Regions from separate parts of the Homo sapiens genome. Here region 1 is linked to region 2. The links are contacts of gene promoters, found by promoter capture Hi-C in blood cells and fetal thymus (Javierre and others, 2016). All regions are on one chromosome and are shown on one strand. Each heading gives the region's core, a stretch centred on a gene start or on the middle of the fragment in contact. The rest is flanking DNA. Distances are from core to core; before and after follow the strand shown. Region 1 has its middle 170 kb from the start of BTC. Region 2 holds the start of CXCL8 (C-X-C motif chemokine ligand 8).

Region 1 (4,787 bases), core at 1,758-4,257, 880 kb before region 2:
TATAAGCCAGGTTGCTACCATATTTTGCATATTTTTGTTTTCACCTTACATGAAGGACTTTATTTTTTTTTAACTTTCAACTTGTTTGTTTTAACCCCCAACTCCTGGTTGTTAAAAACAATTTTGAATCTTGAGTTTGTCAGTTTATTGAGCTACACCCTTAATTTTGATAACAACATTTTCCAATGACCTTGAAGATGAGAACATTGCAGCTATAGAATGTGGTCCTTTGTAGCTGTTCAATACAATTAAATTGAACATTAACAGGTTGGAGCTCTCTGTGAAGCCATGATAGAGAATTATCCATGAAAGAGCATCTTATTACTACAACTACTATTATTATCTCTTCAGCTTCATGTTTCACCACTCCTACCCTCCTTTCCCTTCAGTTTTCTGGGTTCCAGCCACCATGGCTTCCCTCACTTCTTCAAACATGCCAGGCTCCCTCCTGTCCAGTCCCCTACGCAGTCTTCTCCCCTTCATCTCCCTATTTCCTCTGTTTGCCTAGAGAACTTAGACCCTGCCTTCAGCCTCAGCACTCTCTGATCCCCAAGATTAGGACCGTTCCATCTTGCCTCTACTTTTGTGATTATTTTATTAATATTTGCCTCCCCTGATAGTGGAAGTAGTAGTTTATTTTGCTTACTACTGTACCTTTTGTGCCTGACGCAGTGTTTGACACAGAACAATGCACCATTACTATTTTAAATGCTTTGGCTCATAAACTTCTGTCATGTCATGTCACATCATGCCAGTAGGTGACACCAAAATGCATATTATCTGTGACGAAGCCCCTGAACTACAGCTGTGTTTTCATCTCAGCATAGTCTGAAGCCCAAGAGCAGTTCAGAAAGTCTGTTTCTCAGTTTTTTAGGAGTGGAAAAAGTTTGGGAATTCAATATATGCTTATATTTATATTCAAATAAATATTACCTAGCTGTGAGTAATCTTCCAAGTGCATTATTAATAATTTAAAAATTTGATATTCACAAATTAAAATATTACCCTTCTAAAATTTGAGGGTCCTAATTTAATATTCTGCTAAGAAATCCCACTGTCAAGCAATGCTTAGCAAGAACTTTTAACGCACACTTAGATTGTTGGGATTGCCCGAATTTTCAGAGAAGATTCTCTAACCTTGTTATAATTTTAGGATTGTTTTAAGCTAGCTATGGTTTTCAGTTGCTCCTATTTTTGCATTATTTAATTTATGTATAGAATTATTCCTAGGTTACACTTTTCCTGATGGCTTTGTTCCTGCGTAATTGCTGAAATGCTGCTATTATAATTATTCCTCCCTAATTGTTCCCATCACAAAGCTTTCTTCAATGCTAGAATCAGTGAAGTAGACCATATTTTCTTTTGTTTTCCTTTCGGCTCAGTGAATCCTGATCAGAGAAAGTTTGAGAAATGCTGCTTTTGAGCAGTGTTTAGAGAGAAGTGCAAATGTCTGTGTAGGGAGCTGGGGGTTGGGGGTTCTGTAGGAGAGAAGTTTTGGGAACCTAGGTAGAAATTGAAAGTAGGAAAGACCTTGAATTTCTAAAGTTTAATCTTAGTTGTTCAAAATTTGCATTTTATTCTAGAATCAACCAAACACCTGTTATGTTCCCATTTTTTTTTTTTAAGACAGGTTTATTTTCCATTGTGTATCACTGGGTAAAGTAGATGGTTCCTAGCGTGGGCCATTTCATCCTGTAGCTTATTCCCCGGGCTGAGCACTTCCAAGTATCTCTGTTTCCTTCTATATTGCACAAGTATGAAGATGAAACTGTCAGTGGATAAGCATGATTATGTGAAAAACTTTATCTAAAGCACACTGTTAGCCTTTCTTTTATTTTTCAATAAAATGATTGTTATATTTCAAAAGTTCTGAAGTTTAGAATTTTAAAAATATAAGACTACTTATAAGACTCCAATCATAATTTGTCATAGAATTTACCAGAAAAGTTTCTCTATCTATTCTATCTTCCTTTCTTCGATGACTTTATTTTGATGACTCTGATATATGAATGTAACAGTTTCTGATTAGTATGATAACTTCTGGAAGAAAGGAAAACCTGAACAAATTCAATTTATGGATAATTGCCAAGTCTTGTTTACTATATTTCTAACTCTTCTTTGAACAAACATTTTACAAGGCTTTAAGGGCATTTGGCAACTGTCATTCATTTATTATCTCCTTTATTCAGTCATCCTGTTTTCACTCAGATTTTTTACACACTAATCATACACAAGACAATGCTGTACATGCTGTGAATAATAAATATATGGATGACACAATCCCTGTATACTGTGAGCTTATAATACAATATTAATAAATGCAGGTCCTTGTTATGTTACTTTAATTCTTCCACTTATATTTTTCTCTTCCTTCCTAAGCTTGTTTGTTTGAAACTTTGACAAGCAGCTAACTTCTACCAATAAAGTTTAGAGAAGGTAATGCAGTCATGATTTGGGATTGAGGGTTTTGGGACAGAAACAACAGTGAACTTTTTTCTCCATGAAATAGGAAAATATATTAAAAATAGAAAACATCATCTGGCTGAATAAAGATAAACAGAATAGTAATGACTAACATTTCTAATCATCTTGCATATATTAGCTTGTTTGCTTCGTAGTAATAATTCATAATGGGTACTATTGTTTCTAATAATTTGTAAATGAGGAAACAGGCATGTGTGATAAAGATTGAAAATAAATGCCATGAACTGAGAAAAAAAAATGTCAGATTATCATGATTGTTCTTTTCTTGGAGTCACTGTTGAAAATGTCTTGATAGTAGGCCTGCAAGTCCTATTGGGTCTTTGGTAACTGCATCATTTAGAAGAAGTACAGTATAAGGGAATTTGAATTACCGTAAATAATATTACAGAATTCATGAATTTACTTTCATGTTAGTCCTATTAAGGGCAGTCTCTGAAGTCACGTGAATTGAAATGTACTTAGGAGGAAGACATCAAGTCTTAAGGAATGAAGTTTCAATTCCTTATCTTAAGTCAACACTAAATAGAGTTCAATGAAAGAATCCTCATGAAACTTGGCCTAACATTTGAAAGAGATATTCTTAAACCAAGAAGTATTGTGTTAAGCACAAAGAAAGAGAGATGAAACACATAATTTTCATAAAGGAAATTACTTCTAGGATTCCTCCTTTTCATGTATGCTACTATCTCATTAGCTACTGCAGACCAGCTTTCGAGAAAAATATAAAAGCAAATATATGTCAGCATGATAAGAATAAAAGAGGAGAGTAACATTTTTGAGATTAAGGGTAAAAAATTCAATCAGAAAACTGGGGGGAAATTTTGACATTAGTCTTCAGGTATCATGGCCATACCCATGATTACTATGGCAACAGGTAGCAAAACAGTGATATAGCCTTCCAGTTTGAGTGCCAAGTTTAGAAGACCAGTCACACCCTGCACAGCTCAACAGGCTGTCTCTATATCTCTCCTTTTTCTGCTAAGTGGCTGTTGAAAGACCAAAACCACAGAGACGCTCATTGGCCTCAGCAACTATATTAATTAAATAATTCAAACATGTATTTATTCTTTCATTTATTCAGCAAATATTTAGAGTCTAGCTACCTAGAAACCCTTCCCCTTGGGGCAAAGCCAGTTCTTAGAGAAAGCTTGATACACTGGGGCAAAGCCAGTTCTTAGAGAAAGCTTGATACACTACTTAATCTGTTTTTCCCTTAAAGAGGCTGGCTACAAAATAATAATGCTTCTTTTTATGTTTCTTAAAAAAAAAGCTGATGAACTTTTAGGAGCATCAGTAGGTTATCTGGTCAAAACAAATGACTTGCAAGCATATTTTTTTTGGCACCCCTAAGACTACTGAAAGTTAGGCTCCTGCAGGAATCTGCTGAAATCATTAGTAATGACTTTGCAATTCAGGCTTCATTTAATCTCTCTGAGGACGATTTTTCTTAGCTTGATAAAGTTTGTAGATTTAGTCTTTAATGCTAATGACAAAAAGAGCTTAAATGCCCAAGAGCAGAAATGAAACAAACAAATAAGAGAAACAATAAAATGGAGTGGAGATAAGTAAAATGAAAGACAATTTTTGAAAATCAGTTGTATATCAGGCATGTTACGTACATTATTTTATGCAGTTCTTTCAATAAATGTAATAGGTAGGTAGTGTATCACCCTCATTTTACAGATGAGACACATGCTCAGCAGGGAGCCCAAGGTCACGCCCCTTGTCTTGGGTTGGGCAGACCAGGATTCTAATCAAATCCATCTTGCCCCCAAATTCAGGTTCCTTTCACCACACATAAGTAGAGACCCTTGCTTTTATTGAACAATGGTTGTTAACACATCACTTAAGTAGAGTCTTCTAGAATTTTAGTCAATTTAATATCTATTAAATTTCACTCAAAATAAGGCACACTTAAGATCATCAACAAATTATTGAGACTGAAAGGATATTGGTTAATGGCAGAATGTATGAAGTTCACAATCTATTACTATGATAAGGCAGCTGCCTATTTACTCACTTGTACATAGGCTTTTTTCAGATAATTGCAACTGTAATAAGGAAATTATTCTTTAAACGAGTGCATTAAGGTTATCTAGAAGGAAAGTTTTAATATTATGCATAAATACAAGATACCTAGAAAAAATGAAGAATTTGTGGCCCAGAAAGGATTATTGGGCTACCCATTTATTGATTTATTCACTTACAAATTCAAGGATATTTTTAAATTGAAAATTATGTGCTAGGAATTTTTCTAGATGCTGAAGCCCATGCCAGGGTAATTAAGATTCAGCCCTTCCACT
Region 2 (4,140 bases), core at 657-3,156:
ATGAATTTTTTTATGAATTCTCAGCCCTAAAATAAAATTAAAAATATAAAGATGAGCTATGTTTAATAAGAAGGAAAGTAGGGTTCTTGAAAAGTCAATATAGTCTTTGACATTCATGTGTTAGAAATGCTCTATATTCTCAACTATAAATAGGGAGATCAAAGAAATTATCATCTAAAATAGGACACTACTGGGAGTGACAAAGAACTTTACTAAGAGTATAGGACACAAGCTTAAACCCAGAATTTCCTGGGCAAACTATGTATGGTCTTTCTGGTCATGAGTACAACAAACTCACTATTGATGCTATTCCTTTTTTTTTTAACCAAAAAGGCAGATACCTAATGACGATTTTTAGCAACAGAAAGAAATTTATAGGCTGACTTTGGATTATATGTCTCAGGATAAATGAAAAATTTAAATTAAAAAATATATAACTTACCTCTTCAAAAACTTCTCCACAACCCTCTGCACCCAGTTTTCCTTGGGGTCCAGACAGAGCTCTCTTCCATCAGAAAGCTTTACACTGAAATAAGAAAGAAATGGTTCAGATTAATATTTAGTTTTTGCATTCAAATCATGATTCCTTAAGTCAGGCATAAAGTCTAAGTCCAAAATAACATTTATAGTAGTTGTGGAAGCTACCATATTTAAATGTCATGTAGACAAATATTTTTATTTTGTTTTGTTTCATTTACTACTGTAATCCTAACACCTGGAACTTTCCTAAATATTTCCACCTTCCTTAATTTTAAGTTTGCTAAAACAAAATATCTAATCTTTTTTAAAGTACTTACATAATTTCTGTGTTGGCGCAGTGTGGTCCACTCTCAATCACTCTCAGTTCTTTGATAAATTTGGGGTGGAAAGGTTTGGAGTATGTCTTTATGCACTGACATCTAAGTTCTTTAGCACTCCTTGGCAAAACTGCACCTGTTGGGGGAAAAAGTGATTAAGGATTGATTTTATCAACAGGCACAGCTCTGCCAGCTACTTCCTTTCTAATTCCAATATGATTATTTGGAGACTATGGAAGGCATCATGTTTCTAGTGAACTCATTCCTGAATATTCTCCTAGCCCTTGACCTCAGTTAGTTCTTTGTTTTAAAAAACAGTCATAACTGACAACATTGAACGACTTCCTATATAAAGAGTTAGAGTTCTTTTTGTACAATATCAACATCTTCATGGTATTTTTATCTGGTCAATATTGCATAATCCTCTGTGATACCACAGTGTTATTTATAGTAGGCAAGCTAAGACTCTCCAGCATAGAAATTGCCTTCAGAAAGAATTAACAGAAATATATAAATAAGTTATACATGCCTGGTCTATAATCAGGGTATCTTTAAACCAGACAGGAATTAATGACAAATCTGAGGCTTGTCAATGAAATACTACAAGGAGTGGAATTGTCTGAGTTACCTTGCTCAACTCAATATTAATACATAATATAGGTAACCGTGGTTCTCAATAGGACATACTATAAATTACTTATTTACGTTAAATATATGCATGCTACATGGTATAAATTATAAAAGCAGAATATCTATATTGATCAAACTTTATACTTTCCTAAGTGTTATATATAGTTTTTTCTAAATCTTCAATTTAACATTAATTGACTGCTAAGATTATATTCTGTTTCTGAATAAAAAGGATGTTTGTTACCAAAGCATCAAGAATAGCTTTGCTATCTAAGGATCACATTTAGACATAGGAAAACGCTGTAGGTCAGAAAGATGTGCTTACCTTCACACAGAGCTGCAGAAATCAGGAAGGCTGCCAAGAGAGCCACGGCCAGCTTGGAAGTCATGTTTACACACAGTGAGATGGTTCCTTCCGGTGGTTTCTTCCTGGCTCTTGTCCTAGAAGCTTGTGTGCTCTGCTGTCTCTGAAAGTTTGTGCCTTATGGAGTGCTCCGGTGGCTTTTTATATCATCACCCTACTAGAGAACTTATGCACCCTCATCTTTTCATTATGTCAGAGGAAATTCCACGATTTGCAACTGATGGCCCATCCCCTCAGGGCAAACCTGAGTCATCACACTTCCTATTTGTTCCTTATCAAATACGGAGTATGACGAAAGTTTTCTTTGATCTTTAAAATAATTTAATTTTAATATACATTTAAAATACTGAAGCTCCACAATTTGGTGAATTATCAATTGTATGCTTTTTTATTTCTAGATAACTTTATCATAGTACCATGTGACAGATATAGTACTAGAGTGGCAGGTGTTAGAACAAGATCATGGATGATTTTCTTTTAATGGCATAATTATTTTTTTTCAGTTAATTACAGATGCTATCATGATGGTGAAGATAAGCCAGCCAATCATTTTATTGGGGAGGTAATTTAAAATAAATCTTTTTCTAAGCATTTTAGAGAGTTTCTAGGAACTGTTACTGCTCTTAGGGGGCATACTACAACTTTTCAAAAGATTTAGTTTTCTAATGCATGTTAACAGAGTGAAGGGGCACATGTGCTTCACATAGAAATCAGTTCCACAAACATTTATGGAGTAACTTTCTGAGTAATGTGGGGGATCTAGAAATAGATAAGACTAGGTACTTGTCCTTAAAGAGTTTGGTCTATCAGAAGAAGAAAGCAATGTAAGGACTGACTATATAGCAGAATAGACAAGTGGTACTAAGACATTAATTCCAGTGGAGGCATAAGAGCAGAATCTTCCAAAGGCAGTTGGAGCAAGGCATTGAGGAATAGGAGGGCTTCAATAGAGGAAGATGAAAGAGAACAGCACATTCCAGATAGGAACAGTATTCAAGGCCACTCAAGTTGTAAAGTTAAGGTATGTTTATGCTCCAGAAAGTGGTGCACTGGAGCTGCTTGGTTGGGGTGGGAGGGAGGTGTTATCTAATGGAAAGTTGTATGCTTAGTGGAAAGAGCATCTGGGTTCCAACTCTGGTTCAGCCACTGTTGCTTCATGCTCTTTATCCAAGGACACCAAGTCTGACCTCTGAGGACCCATGATCACTAGCAAAAGGGATGGAGTGAGAAATTTCAACAAATCATAAAAAGGTGGCTTTATGTCCTAGTGTCCTGAAGAAAAGAATCCAAGACCTTTCTTGAAAGGTCTTGGATTCTGTAGATAAAGAGCACCAAGGAAGGGTTCTTATGATAGTAAAAGTCTGTTCGCTTCTGGGCAAGTACATAATTTATAAATAATTCACCTTGGTGTAACAGTTCTTCATTTTCAGAAAGTACGACAGAGCAGTGAATTTGCCCACACTGTGAACACACTGTGGAGGGGGAATGCCATTTTCAAATGCTTTCCAAAAAGGTTTGTCTGTTTCTGCACAATCATGTTTCTTTTTGTTATCTTTCTCCAACCAACCTAAGACTTGAGGATAAAATAATGCCTGGGTTACACTGAATTCTATAGCAAAGTAAATGTTTATTCTATATAATGTAGCTCCTATAGTTTTCAACTGTAGTATTTCAGAAACTTCATTATTCATTTAATATGTGTTGTTTATCTGCTAATGTCCCTTATTGTAGGAGATGTGAATGCTATGTAAATAGATATAGTACCTGACTTAAAGGACTTTGTTGTCTAGTGCAGAATATGGAAAATTAGTTACACAAGTAAGTAAAATACAGTGATGAGTGTTACAATAACAGGTAATTACAGGAAGTTCTGGAATCAAACAAACATGATCTTTGAGGCAGTTTTGATGAATGAAGGTTTTCTGAAGAAACAACATCAAAAGTGTTACCTTTATTGTTAATGAGGAGAAGAAAGACCAATGGGACTGCTTTGCTAGTACAGGACAGGAAGTACAGGACAATGAAATGTAGGCGAACATGGCCCATTTGGGTTTCTCAAACTATTTAGCATACGGAACACAGTGCATGGAGTGACAAGAAGAGAAAGCTTGGGCCGGATAGGTAAAAAAGACCTATATCTTAAAGAAAACTCCAAGTTTCTTTGCTTCAGTGATGTTGGCATGTTTAGCAAAGACACATTCTCATATGGACACAACCTGGCTTGACTGATTCAGTTCACTATCATTAAGACTCACTCATACAGCATCACTAAGACATTCAGAGTTCTGAGGATGTGCAAAGACTTCTTTGCTTTTCCCTAACGGTTGCCTTTGTATTTATGGTGAGCCC

The links. The method cuts DNA at HindIII sites, captures the fragments that hold promoters and counts their contacts. A CHiCAGO score of 5 or more calls a contact.
Region 1: a contact is called between a fragment that was not itself captured here and the fragment with the promoter of CXCL8 in region 2, in 1 of 17 cell types (monocytes). The highest score is 6.7, in monocytes.

The regions. Positions count from the first base shown.
Region 1 is chr4:74,619,208-74,623,994 of GRCh38, reverse strand. No RefSeq gene overlaps it. Among named protein-coding and RNA genes, the nearest start is that of BTC, 170 kb to the left of the region's middle. RefSeq lists a silencer at 586-880. The HindIII fragment of the contact is 1,252 bases long and covers 2,382-3,633 here.
Region 2 is chr4:73,738,335-73,742,474 of GRCh38, reverse strand. CXCL8 (C-X-C motif chemokine ligand 8) reads right to left here and starts at 1,906. Exons shown (of 4, transcript NM_000584.4): 1 at 1,753-1,906; 2 at 798-933; 3 at 443-526; 4 at 1-26. The coding sequence starts at 1,816. The coding sequence ends at 11. RefSeq lists a silencer at 3,149-3,443. The HindIII fragment of the contact is 2,023 bases long and covers 1,878-3,900 here.